4 separate regions of the Homo sapiens genome follow, and all the other regions are linked to region 3. Evidence: promoter capture Hi-C in 16 types of primary human blood cells and fetal thymus (Javierre and others, 2016). All regions are on one chromosome and are shown on one strand. Each heading gives the region's core, a stretch centred on a gene start or on the middle of the fragment in contact. The rest is flanking DNA. Distances are from core to core; before and after follow the strand shown.

Region 1 (2,929 bases), core at 219-2,718, 350 kb after region 3:
TGCCTAGAATTAAACTGCACAAAAAACTACATGACCCATATAATTTTTTTATGTTGAAATAATTTTAAACATGCAAAATTAGCAAAGATTCATATAAATCCTCAACCAGCCTATCCTGATGTTAGCTATATATATAATTGTATTATATGTATAATAGTTGTTATATATAAAACTGTATATATACATTTATTGTATTATAATCATATATATACATTTATTGTATTATATATAATATACAACTGTATATGTAATTGTAATATAATAATTATATACATAATAGTATATGTAATACAAGTATCCAACCAGGAAATTGATGTCAACGTATCTTACCATTACCTAATGTGCAGACCTTATTTGAATTTTGTCAATATTTCTCTTAACGTCCTCTTTCTTCTCCAAGATCGAATCGAGGATCTCACATTGCACTCAGTTGTTATGTCCTTAGATTCCTCCAGGCTGTGACCGTTTCTTATTCTTCCCTTGTCTTTTGTGATTGTGACACTTTTGCTGAGCATGGCCAATTATTTTACAGAATGTTTATCAATTTGGATTTCTTTGATGTTTTCTCACGATTAGGCTGAGGTCATGCATGTTTGTCTTCTGTGTTCAGTCAATATGCCCCATCCTTTTTCAAATATTTCTTCATGTTCTGGCGTCAGAATTTGTTCCAATGTTATCTTATATATTCCTGCCCCAGCCCTCGAAGTAACCATTTCTCCACAGATACTTCAAAATAGTATTTAGAAACCAAGGCCGGGCACAGTGGCTCACGCCTGTAATCCCAGCACTTTGGGAGGCCGAGGCGGGCTGATCTCGAGGTCAAGAGACGGAGACCATCCTGACCAACATGGTGAAACTCCGTCTTTACTAAAAATACAAAAAATTAGCCGAGCGTGGTGGCATGCACCTATAATTCCAGCTACTCGGGAGGCTGAGGCAAGAGAATCGCTTGAACCTGGGAGGCAGAGGTTGCAGTGAGCCGAGATTGCTCCATTACACTCCAGCCTGGGTGACAGACGGAGACTTCATCTCAAAAAAAAAAAAAAGTAATATTGATTAAAAATCAAATTGCATGAGAATGCATAGCAGGATACCAAGCAAATACAACTTTTAAATATTACAGAAAATGATATTTAAAATACAAACCAAATACATAAATCATGCAGGCGGATTAAGACGTTTCTGGATAGTGGTAACAGCTGAGAGTGGCTGGATGAATTCCAGAGAAATTTCATATATTGCTTCAATTTTATTTAAAATATACTATTACCTATGTCTTAGATATTTTATTTTAAATAATGAACAAGGATATTATAAACTCTGCAGAAGTAAGTGTAATCGTGTTTTTTTCCTGCCCACATTAAAGATGGCCCAGATGCTTGCACTGACCCCATTGACTGCCCACAGCCATCATGGCGACCGGAAGTCCTGAGAGCTTACTTCCCTCAGTTCTCAGAAAGCCCACCTCCTCTGCGAGCGTTATTTCAAAAGAAGTTGAGAACCAGAGAAACCGACCTAAGGGGATTCTCCCATTTGGCCCGTCCTACCCTAAAGTCACCACCTGCTGCTTTTCTGGAGCGCTTACCAGGTGAGTTTCAGGAGCCCTAGTGTACAGGAAGGAGAAACGGAGGCTTGTTGGTAGGACACCGCCAGGCTGCTCTGTGTTCTGTTCCTCTTAGTCAGCAAGGAAGGAGTACGACAAAGTGAGAAGTTCATATGAGCGTGTCAGAAGGGGAAATAGGGCCCCTCCCTTGTTAAAAACAAAACCCTCTGGAAGCTCGGCATCCTGTCATAACTTAAATTTATGACTTCAGTGACTTGGCTTGGACAGTCTTAATAATCTCTCTCACACTCAATTTGTTTTAATTTCTGTAATAATAATTTTTATACCAATGTTTATGTTGTTAATACTAATAATTTTACACTGTAACTGTATAACTTTAATTATTAGAAGTGTTAACCTAACTAACAAACATATGAAAGCTTCCTAAGGGAAACAATTTTTTTTTCTTTTTGAGATGGAGTCTCGCTCTGTGGCTAGGCTGGAGTACAGTGGCATGATCTTGGCTCACTGCAACCTCTGCCTCCCAGGTTCAAGCGATTCTCGTGCCTCAGTCTCCCAAGTAGCTGGGACTACAGGCGTGCACCACCACATCCAGCTAATTTTTTATTTTTTAGTAGAGACGGGGTTTCACCATGTTGGCCAGGATGGTCTCCGTCTCTTGACCTCGAGATCAGCCCGCCTTGGCCTCCCAAAGTGTTGGGATTACAGGCGTGAGCCACTGCGCCCAGCCGGAAACAATGTTTATTTGGGAATAGAGCATTGCAATTGGGAATAGACATGCCGTATTAAACTATGTGTATATTCAGGGAGATAAAGGAAGACAGAAATGGGGAGGATTGCATATTGTTTTAACAGAATTTTCCTTGGCTACAAAGATCAGTAACAAGGGTGACATTAGTCCTAGGTTGGACCAGCAGTTGCTGGGCAGCATTCCTTGCAGAAATATATATTTTTTTAAGGTTGTGAAGACCTTTATGTAAGGTTGTGGGTTTTGTAGAGTCTTTTTCATCTTCAGGCATGCAAGGATAAGAGCCCTCTCTTCATGGCCTTCCTGGCTCTATTTGTCAGGGTTATCTTAACATAAGTGACTCCATTTTGTTCTGACAACTTTCAGATTTCCCCTTGTGATCAAGAAGTTTCTCTGAAAGCACTCTCCTGCCTCAGCCTCCCGAGTAGCTGCGACTACAGGTGCCCACCACCACACCCAGCTAATTGTTTTTGTGTTTTTAGTAGAGACGGGGTTTCACTATGTTGGCCAGGCTGGTCTCGAACCCCTGACTTGTGATCTGCCCACTTCGGCCTCCCAAAGTGCTGGGATTACAGGGATGAGCCACCGCACCAGGCCTGCATTTCTTTTTTCAAAGA
Region 2 (2,843 bases), core at 320-2,819, 280 kb after region 3:
ATTTTTTTTTGTTCTTGAGATGGAGTTTCGCGCTTGTTGCCCAGGCTGGAATGCAATGGCATGATCTTGGCTCACTGCAACCTCCGCCTCCTGGGTTCAAGTGATTCTCCTGCCTCAGCCTCCCGAGTAGCTGGGAGGCGCCTGCCACCGCGCCTGGCTAATTTTTTGTATTTTCAGTAGAGACGGGGTTTCACCATGTTGGCCAGGCTGGTCTCGAACTCCTGACCTCAGGTGATCCACCTGCCTCAGCCTCCCAAAGTACTGGGATTACAGGCGTGAGCCACCGCACCCGGCCTGTGCAGATTGTTAACTGCACAAAGGAACACAGCCACGGGTGGGTGGCTGTAAGACCCAGCCCATACCCCTACATGTATCCTGGTGTGGGGCTGGGTCAGCCAGAAGAAGGGGTGCCTCCTAATTTTTGCTAACGTGTCATATGGGCTAGAGGCAGCCTTTGGGGAGACAGGGGAAGTCTCCCTCTCTAGGACCCCAAATGTTCAGTCCCTAGAGAGGGAGACTGGGCTGGGCGCGGTGGCTCCCGCCTGTAATCCCAGCACTTTGGGAGGCTGAGGTGGGTGGATCACCTGAGGTCAGGAGTTCAAGACCAGCCTGGCCAACATGGTGAAACCCCGTGTCTACTAAAGATACAAAAATTAGCCGGACGTGGTGGTGGGCGCCTGTAATCCCAGCTGCTCAGGAGGCTGAGGCAGGAGAATTGCTTGAACCCGGGAGGCGGAGGTTGCAGTGAGTGAAGATCGCACCACTGCACTACAGCCTAGGTGACAGAGCGAGACTCCGTCTCAAAAAAAAAAAAAAAAAAAAAAAAGAGAGAGAGGGAGACTGGTTTCCTAGAGGGAAAAAGAAAGCTGTCTTCCCAAATGGAAAGTTAGTAGAAAGAAAAAAGAGTCCAGAACTAGCCGGGTGTGGTGGCTCGTGCCTGTAGTCCCAGCTACTCGGGAGGCTGAGGCAGGAGAATCGCTTCAACCCGGGAGGCGGAGGTTGCAGTGAGCTGAGATCGTACCACTGCACTCCAACCTGGACAGAAAGAAAAAAAGAGTCCGACAATCTAGAAACACACACTATGCCCGGGGTTCAGAGAGAGAGAGCAACAGAGTGACAGAAGCTTGAGCAAGGAGACAGGACTGGTCACTGCAGGCTTCCTATCCTAACAGGGTCTGCTGGGACCCAGAATCCAGGTTCTTCCCAGAAGTGTCTGAAGGTCTAGATTCAGGTGCCTCACAGAGGTCTCTTGGGCCTTGAGCGGGGAAGGCCCAGGCTCTTGGGTCTGTGGGAGGGAAAAGGTGCCTGGGGTCCCGGCTCCTGTGTCCTCGGGAGGAAGGGGTTGGGGGCTGGGAGATGGGCATTCTGAGGGCTGAGCAGCTGGCGGTGGGGACCATGTTAGGTTCAGGAGAGGTCAAGCGTGCGCAGCCTGGGTCCCTGGAGGCGGAAGGAAGGAAGATCAAGGCAGAGCCCGCGGTTAAGGTTTTATTTTTTGGAGGACGCGCGGCGAGGGGGGCCGGGAAGGGGCGGGGGCAGCCGAGCGAGGCGGGGCGCTCACTCCCGCTTCCGTAGGTGGATGTAGATGATGCCGCTGACCAGGGCGAGGGGGAAGGCCACCCAGGCCAGGGCGAAGCAGTATCCGAAGCTGCCCCCTCGCGGGTGCTTCTCCAGGATCTCCTCGGCGTGAATGGCATAGATCAAGGCGCCAGTAAACACCGCCACGCCTGCGGAAGATGAAAACCACACGTCATGCAGTGCCCCCTCAAGACTACATTTCCCAATATCCCATGGGGGCAAAGAAGCGCCGGAGGGCCCGTGGGCAGCGCCGCTGCCTGCTGGGAGTTGTGGTTCTTTCCCCCCCGCCCAGCGCCGTGCAACTGTAGCGCGGCCTTAGGTAACTGATTTAATCTCTCTAGGTCCAATAATATCTCTCTATCCATCCAAGGAATATTTTTGAGTGTGTTTCTATAAGCCAAACATGCAGTAGTAAATTCATAAACCAAGAGAGAAGCTTTGCAAGAACCTATAATGTTCCCCAAACTGACTGTGATTAAGTTAGCCCTTTGCACCTTAAGTCAAAAAATTAAAAAGTACGCAAAACTTCTTGAAGTATCTGATGCACAATAGGCACGCAAGAAACAGCGGTTGGCTGATATAAATACCATTATTATTATGATTTAGAGCTCTCTACTGAGGTACTAATTAGTTTATCCCCCCACGTCACGGCCGATCCCTGGGACCAAAACTATTTACCTATACCTCCTTCCCCAGCCCCGGCTCCCTGAAACTCTGAGTTCCCTGATGACTCATACGCACAAGCCATAACTATCATTAGCCACTGAAAACTACAAGTCCCAGCAATCCCTGGGGGCAGAGATGTAGCCCACGGAGGCACCTCTTGTGGCTCGTGGGGTGTTGAAAGTTGTTTTTTTCTACGAGAGGCCCATTCTCAGGGCCCCCAGCATCTTGACACACCCCACTCCCTTCTGCTCAATTCTTGGGGGATTAGGGTTGGGGAGGGGCAGTGCTCACTGGTGCAAAGCTGGCAGAGGCCGGTGGCATAGAAGAGACCTCCTCGTCGCATGGTGTAGAGCTGGAACATGAACAGGATGAAGGAGAGACAGCAGAGAATGAGGGAGAGCACCATGAGGACCTGCACCGCCTTCAGCCAGCCTGCAGTAAGGAGGACACAGAGGGGGACATCACCGTGGGTCCAGAGTTCCAGCTTCACCTGCTTGCTCACCATGTGACCCTTCTCTGCCCCATCCCTGCTCCCGTTTAGGCCCATACAAGCCTAGATACTTAGATGTATCACTTATTTTGACCTTGAGCCCTGTTACCTT
Region 3 (2,960 bases), core at 179-2,678:
CCACTGCACTCCAGCCTGGGCAGCAGAGCAAAACCCTGTTTCAAAAAGAAAAAGAGAGAACAATACACAGCTTTTGGACCCCACTGCCATTCATCGTGCCTGGAACAGGACCTGAGAATCTGCATTTTCAGGAAGTTCCCACTTGCTGCTGCTGCTGTTTCTGGTCCAGGGACCACACTTTGAGAATGATTGGAGTTGAGACCAGGATGTTTGAAATGTTTGAAAGAGTGTTTACCTTCCCAGCTTGGTGTGAGGATTCAGTGGCACGTAACGTAAGACAGGCTTGGCCAGGTGCCGTGGCTCATACCTGTAATCCCAGCACTTTGGGAGGCTGAGGTGGGAGGATCACTTGAGCCCAAGAATCCGAGACCACCCTGGGCAACATAGCTGGACCTTATCTCTACAAAAAGAAAAAAAAAAAAAGGAAAAGAAAAAGAAAAGAAAACAAAGAATGCTCCATGAACATCAGCTGTCATTTATTATGATATATATATATTTTTTACCATATTTCATGGACTCTAAAGTGCTACCAATGGAGAGAAGCATCCTGATTGAGATGTGAGAAGCTCTGCGTCTTAGAACCAGTGGAACAGAGTAATACAATCAAACCCACGGGCCGTGCTCCCCTGCCGCTCAGTCAGGCCTGGGGATGCTTCCCCTAGCACCGGGCTCCTGGTGGACAGCCTTAGAAGGGATGAAGCCAGGGCCGCAAGAGGTTGTCCAGGGCCTCTCTGGCCATTTAGTGGGGGAAGGACATGGGGACATGGGGAGTGGCGGATCTGGGAGAACAGTCCCAGGCCCTGTCCTCCCTGTTGGTCACAGCAAACGTGGAGGAAGCAGCATACCCAGCCCCAGTGCCAGGCTGGTGGTGGCCCCCACTGTCTGGCTGCTCGGGGCTCTGTTACACAGGCGGCCGGTGCAGCAGTTGGTGGTGAGGCTGTAGGTGACGCCCCTGTAGCTGACGGGTTCCTCAAGGCCGCAGCTGGTGGCTCGCAGGCAGCCTTTGTTGATGACCGGACCAGTGCCCGGGGCGACCCCGTGGCCTGTGAAGCAGTCCTCGTCATCGCCACAGTGCATGTAGGTACCAGGACACTGCATGGAGTCGGTGAGCTCACAGAAGACGCAGTCCTTGACGCCCGTCGTGCCTGGGGGCAGAGCCATCACCAGAAGCAGCAGCCAGCACAGGACCATGGCGGCCTGGCGGCGTTGACCCTGCCCCAGCCAGGCCGTGGGCTTCCCAGACCTCCCGGAACCGCTGAATGAAGGACCTCTGAGGACTCCTCTTGCCCACGGGACTTTGGCCCTGGTCCTGGCCTCCCAGGGTCAGCGCCTGGAGTGTCCTCTGTTCCCAACGCCCTGCGTCCCTCTAAGTCCTGGGGATGGAGGTGAGCGGGTGGCTGCTGCCCAACAAGAGTCTGTGAATGGAATGAGTGATCTCACAGATCCCTCAGGGTTCCCACTGGCCGCTCTGGGGATGAGGTCATAGGTGAGAGGAGTGGGTGTCACAATCCAAGGGGTGGCCTGCCCCGCCGACCTGCCGGGGCGCAAGAGGGCTCTGCCATCCCTGCCAAGGTGAAGACGCCCTGAACCCAGAGGACGCTGGCCACAAGCTTGTCCGCATTCTCTGTGCTGTACACCCGCCAAGGGCTTGACTTCAGCCTCACACCTCCCATAGTGACCCCATATTCCAGATGGGTAAACTAAGGCTGGGGAAAGTGATGTATCCAGGGTCCCCGAGCCAGGATGAGAGCCAGGTTCATTGAATTCCAAAGAGGCTGGGAAAGAAGAGGGTGTATTAACTGAGCACTTGCTGTGTGCCAGGATTCATGCTCAGTGCTTGCTTGCTTTTATTTTTTTGAGACGGAGTCTCTCACTCTGTCACCCAGGCTGGAGTGCAGTGGCGTGATCTCAGCTCACTGCAGCTTCTGCTTCCCAGCTTCAAGCGATTCTCGTAACTCAGCCTCCCGAGTGGCTGGGACTGCAGGCGCATGCAACCACATCTGGCTAATTTTTGTATTTTTAGTAGAGACAGGGTTTCACCATGTAGGCCAGGCTGGTTGCGAACTCTTGAGCTCAAGTGATCTGCCCGCCTCGACCTCCCAAAGTGCTGGGATTACAGACGTGAGCCACCACACCACGCCTGGCACTTGGTGCTTTCAATAACAACTACTGTGATGACAGGAAGTGTTAGGGCACCGGCCCCCACAGCTCACAGGCTCTCAGGGCCAGCTACGTGCAGGGGGCTTGATTCAAATTCAGTCATTTGAATATTCCTATGTTGTATTTATTTCTTAATTTTATTTTTTATTTTAAAAAATTGGCCGGGCGCAGTGGCTCACGCCTGTAATCCCAGCACTTTGGGAGGCCGAGGCGGGTGGATCACCTGAGCTCAGGAGTTCAAGACCAGCATGGCCAACGTGGTAAAACCCCATCTCTACTAAAAATACAAAAATTTGCTGGGCATGGTGGTGTGCACCTGTAATCCCAGCTACTTGGGAGGCTTGAACCTGGGAGGTGGAGGTTGCAGTGAGCCAATATTGTGCCACTGCACTTGAGCCTAGGCAATAGAGCAAGACTCCATCTCAAAAAAAAAAAAAAATAGGATCTTGCTCTGTTGCCTAGACTGGAGTGCAGTGGCGCGATCTTGGCTCACTGCAGCCTCAACTTCCCAGGCTCAAGTGATTCTCCTCCCTGAGCCTCCAGAGTAGCTGGGACTATAGGCGTGCACCACCATGCCCGGCTAATTTTGTAAAATTTTTTATAGAGATGGGGTCTTGCTATGTTGCCCAGGCTGGTCTCAAACTCCTAGCCTCAAGTGATCCTCCTGCCTCGGCCTCCCAAAGTGCTGGGATTACAGGCATGAGCCACTGCACACGGCCTTCCTAGGTTTTTGCTCCAGATTGCAGATGAGCACTGCAGGGAGCAGCAACGTGGAGAGCTTGGTGCACAGCCAGGACTGA
Region 4 (3,277 bases), core at 538-3,037, 320 kb after region 3:
AGCCAGGATGGTCTTGATCTCCTGACCTCGTGATCCGCCCGCCTCGGCCTCCCAAAGTGCTGGGATTACAGGCATGAGCCACCGCGGCCGGCAGGTCTTTCCTACATTTTTTATTTCCGTAAGGAGTCTCTGCAGTGTGAGTTCTTGTATGAACCATGAATTTGAGACCACGCTGAAGGCTTTGTCATATTCCTTTTAGATTCGCAGTTTCTCTCCAGGGTGAGAACAAATGTCTACTCAAGATGAATGAAGATGAAAGGCTTTCTGTAGACTTTACCTTCACAGGGTTTTTTTTCACATTTCTGTAAGATACGAGAGTTCAGGGAAGATGTTCTCACTCATGCTAACCCCTTGAGCTCCCTTCCAATATGTCCTCCTCACATGTTTGGTACAGTCAGAAAATTAATGAAAAATTTTCCACCTTCCTTTCATTCACAGGGCTTCTCATCTTTGTGAGTCTTAAGATGTTTTTTAAGTCCTGACGACTTTGCAAAGTCTTTTCCACATGTCTTACATTTATAGGGTTTCTCTCCAGTGTGGCTCCTTATATGTGTATATTTTGAGGACTCCCGAATGACTTTCCCACATTCTTCACATTCGTAGGGCTTCTTCTGCACAACATGCTTTCTTAAATGTTTATTAAGGTGTAAGGAATATCTAAAGGCTTTCCCACATTTCCCACATTCATACGGTTTCTCTCCAGTGTGAATTTTCATATGTCTCATAAGGAATGACTGATAAAAAAAGGCTCTCCCACATTCGGGGCATTTATGGGTTTTCTCTCCAGTGCAATGACTCTTGTGTGAACCGGAATTTGGAGCGTTGGCAGAGGTTGCCCCAGTTTGACAATCCTTCTTGTTTGTCTCTGCGGTATACAACTGCATCTGCATGGCGTGAATTGAGTTATTTCTGGAGGTGTTCTCGCACTGAGTAAAATCATACATTTTCTCTCGACCATGAGTGTTGTGTGCCCTAAGGGATCCGTCTTCACGGAAAGCTTTTCCAAATGGATTCCGCTGGTGCCTGTTGGCCCCCGTATCAATTTCATCACGTATATGATGCACAGTGTTCTGACTGCCAGTCCATGTGCTTGATTTCAGCTCTGTTTTTCTCCCACACGGAACCCACTGAATGTTCCACCCCAAGACTCCATCGTCTTCGTTGTTTTCATGTGTTTTTTGACTATCGTTTAAGACAGGATTATACTTGAAAATACTTGAGTCACGTGTTAGGATACATTGTCTTATGGAATCTCCCTGTGAAGGCACAAGCCTGCAGGTAGGTTTAGAGTGGTTCCTCATTTCATGATCTTCACAAATGCTAACAGGAGATTCATCTTTCTCAGGGGCAACTGCAGGTGGCTTCACATTATTCACCCCCTGCCTGTGTGGTTCCTCTGTTTTGGGGCATCTCCAGTCTTCTCTTAATGTGGAGTGCTGGGAACTGATGCTCGTGAGACACACTCTGTTGGCTTCAGGAAATGTTCTTTTAGGAAGAATATCCGGCTGAGGGGTTGCGTCTTTGGTTTTACATGGAGTTGCCCAATCTGAAATACAGTGGCACAAAAGTTAAATTCTTTGTTGAAAGTAAAGGTGGGTTAGAGATGATGACATAGGCAATCTCCGTGTGGATTTCTCTCTTTCTTTCTTTCTTTCTTTCCCTCCCTCCCTCGCTCCTTCCATCCTTTCTTTCTTCCTTCCTTCCTTCCTTTCTTTCTTTTCTCTTTCTTTCCCTTCCTTCCTTCCTCCTTCCTTCCTTCCTTCTTTCCTCTCTCTCTCTCTCGTTCTCTCTGTCTTTCTCTCTTTTCTTTAGACAGAGTCTTACTCTGTGGCCCAGGCTGGAGTGCAGTGGCATGATCTTGGCTCATTACAACCTCCGCCTCCCAGGTTCAAGCAATTCTCTGGCCTCAGCTTCCTGAGTAGCTGAGATTACAGGTGCGTGCCACCATGCCTGGCTAATTTTTGTGTTTTCAGTTGAGATGGGGTTTCACCATGTTGGCCAGGCTGGTCTTGAATTCCTGGCCTCATGTGATCCACCTGCCTCAGCCTCCCAAAGTGCTGGGATTACAGGCATGAGCCAACGCGCCAGGCCTCTGTGTGGATTTCTTTCTAAATGTTCACTCAACATGTATGATAAAAATGTGAAGGGGAAGAAAGCAAGAGGAAGGAAGCAGAGAAAGACATCAGAGATTCTGCAGTGTCAGGAATGTGATGACGGTAAGGTCAGGGGTTCAACATGGAGAGTGTCATGTTACTGAGGAACAGTTCTGCAGAGATCAAGGAAACGATCAGGAATTCTAAGTGGAAGAGAATTGGACAGAGAGTCCATGTGAAATTTTTATTTTTTTGAGATGAGGGTGTCACTAGGTTGCCCAGGTGCTGGAGTGCAGTGGCTGGCTATTCATAGGTGTGATCACAGCACACTGCAGCCTTGAGCTCTTGGGATCAAGTGATCCTCTTGCCTCAGTCTCCCGAGTAGCTGGCTCCATGTGCAATTTTAAGGAGAAAAGGAACAGGCCTTTAGCAGGGAAAAATGAAAATATGAGAGGATGGATAAAAGTCAAAAAACATAAGCTTGGACAGGCACAGTGGCTCACGCCTGTAATCCCAGCACTTTGAGAGGCTGAAGTGGGTGGATCACCAGAGGTCAGGCGTTTGAGACCAGCCTGGCCAATGTGGTGAAGCCCCGTCTCTACTAAAAATAGAAAAATTAGCTGGGCATGGTGGCGTGTGCCTGTAATCCCAGCTACTCAGGGGGCTGAGGCAGGAGAATCACTTGAATCCGGCAGGCAGAGATTGCAGTGAGCTGAGACTGAGCCACTGCACTCCAGCCTGGGCAACAGAGTGCCTGTTTTTTTCTTTCTTTTTTTTTCCTTTTAATTAAAAAAAAATTGTTTTTAAAGACAAAAAGAACAGTGTTTTGCCATGTTGGCTGGGCTGGTCTCGACTTCCTGGCCTCAAGTAATCCTCCTCCTGCCTCAGCCTCCCAAAGTGCTAGGATTACAGGTGTGAGCCACTGTGCCTGGCCTATAGGTCTCCTTAGCTGCTCTGTAGATAACAACTTGAAAATTATAAAACATTAAGTTTTCTCTTTGAGATATTCCTTCAGGTCCTGCATTCTGATGAAATGACTATGCTCACTGATCTGAGGAATGCCGTGAGAAACTGACGCACCAAAGAATGTACTTTCCTCATCCCGATGATTTCATCCCCCTTCCTCTGACCAATCAACGTCTCCAATTCTCCAGTCCCTTATCCTCCATGATCCCCTTAAAAAT

What was found. The method cuts DNA at HindIII sites, captures the fragments that hold promoters and counts their contacts. A CHiCAGO score of 5 or more calls a contact.
Region 1: the fragment with the promoter of CARD8 here is called in contact with the fragment with the promoter of SPACA4 in region 3 in 2 of 17 cell types (total B cells and naive B cells); the score reaches 5.7 in total B cells.
Region 2: a fragment that was not itself captured here is called in contact with the fragment with the promoter of SPACA4 in region 3 in 2 of 17 cell types (M0 macrophages and endothelial precursors); the score reaches 7.7 in M0 macrophages.
Region 4: a fragment that was not itself captured here is called in contact with the fragment with the promoter of SPACA4 in region 3 in 1 of 17 cell types (naive B cells); the score reaches 5.1 in naive B cells.

What each region holds. Positions count from the first base shown.
Region 1 is chr19:48,254,451-48,257,379 of GRCh38, reverse strand. It overlaps CARD8 (caspase recruitment domain family member 8), which reads left to right and starts at 1,468. Exons shown (of 14, transcript NM_001184900.3): 1 at 1,468-1,588. It overlaps CARD8-AS1 (CARD8 antisense RNA 1), which reads right to left and starts at 1,705. Exons shown (of 2, transcript NR_040599.1): 1 at 1,586-1,705; 2 at 1-1,029. RefSeq lists an enhancer at 1,360-1,599. The HindIII fragment of the contact is 2,537 bases long and covers 1-1,985 here.
Region 2 is chr19:48,329,182-48,332,024 of GRCh38, reverse strand. EMP3 (epithelial membrane protein 3 (MAM blood group)) reads right to left here. Exons shown (of 5, transcript NM_001425.3): 4 at 2,533-2,673; 5 at 1,472-1,724. The coding sequence ends at 1,555. Among named protein-coding and RNA genes, the nearest start is that of EMP3, 5.1 kb to the right of the region's middle. RefSeq lists an enhancer at 2,474-2,623. The HindIII fragment of the contact is 888 bases long and covers 1,126-2,013 here.
Region 3 is chr19:48,605,210-48,608,169 of GRCh38, reverse strand. It overlaps SPACA4 (sperm acrosome associated 4), which reads right to left and starts at 1,428. Exons shown (of 1, transcript NM_133498.3): 1 at 456-1,428. The coding sequence starts at 1,191. The coding sequence ends at 817. The region is part of intron 5 of FAM83E (family with sequence similarity 83 member E); the gene reads left to right. The HindIII fragment of the contact is 9,007 bases long and covers 1-1,612 here.
Region 4 is chr19:48,284,030-48,287,306 of GRCh38, reverse strand. It overlaps ZNF114 (zinc finger protein 114), which reads right to left. Exons shown (of 6, transcript NM_153608.4): 6 at 1-1,546. The coding sequence ends at 429. Among named protein-coding and RNA genes, the nearest start is that of ZNF114-AS1, 14 kb to the right of the region's middle. The HindIII fragment of the contact is 1,576 bases long and covers 1,000-2,575 here.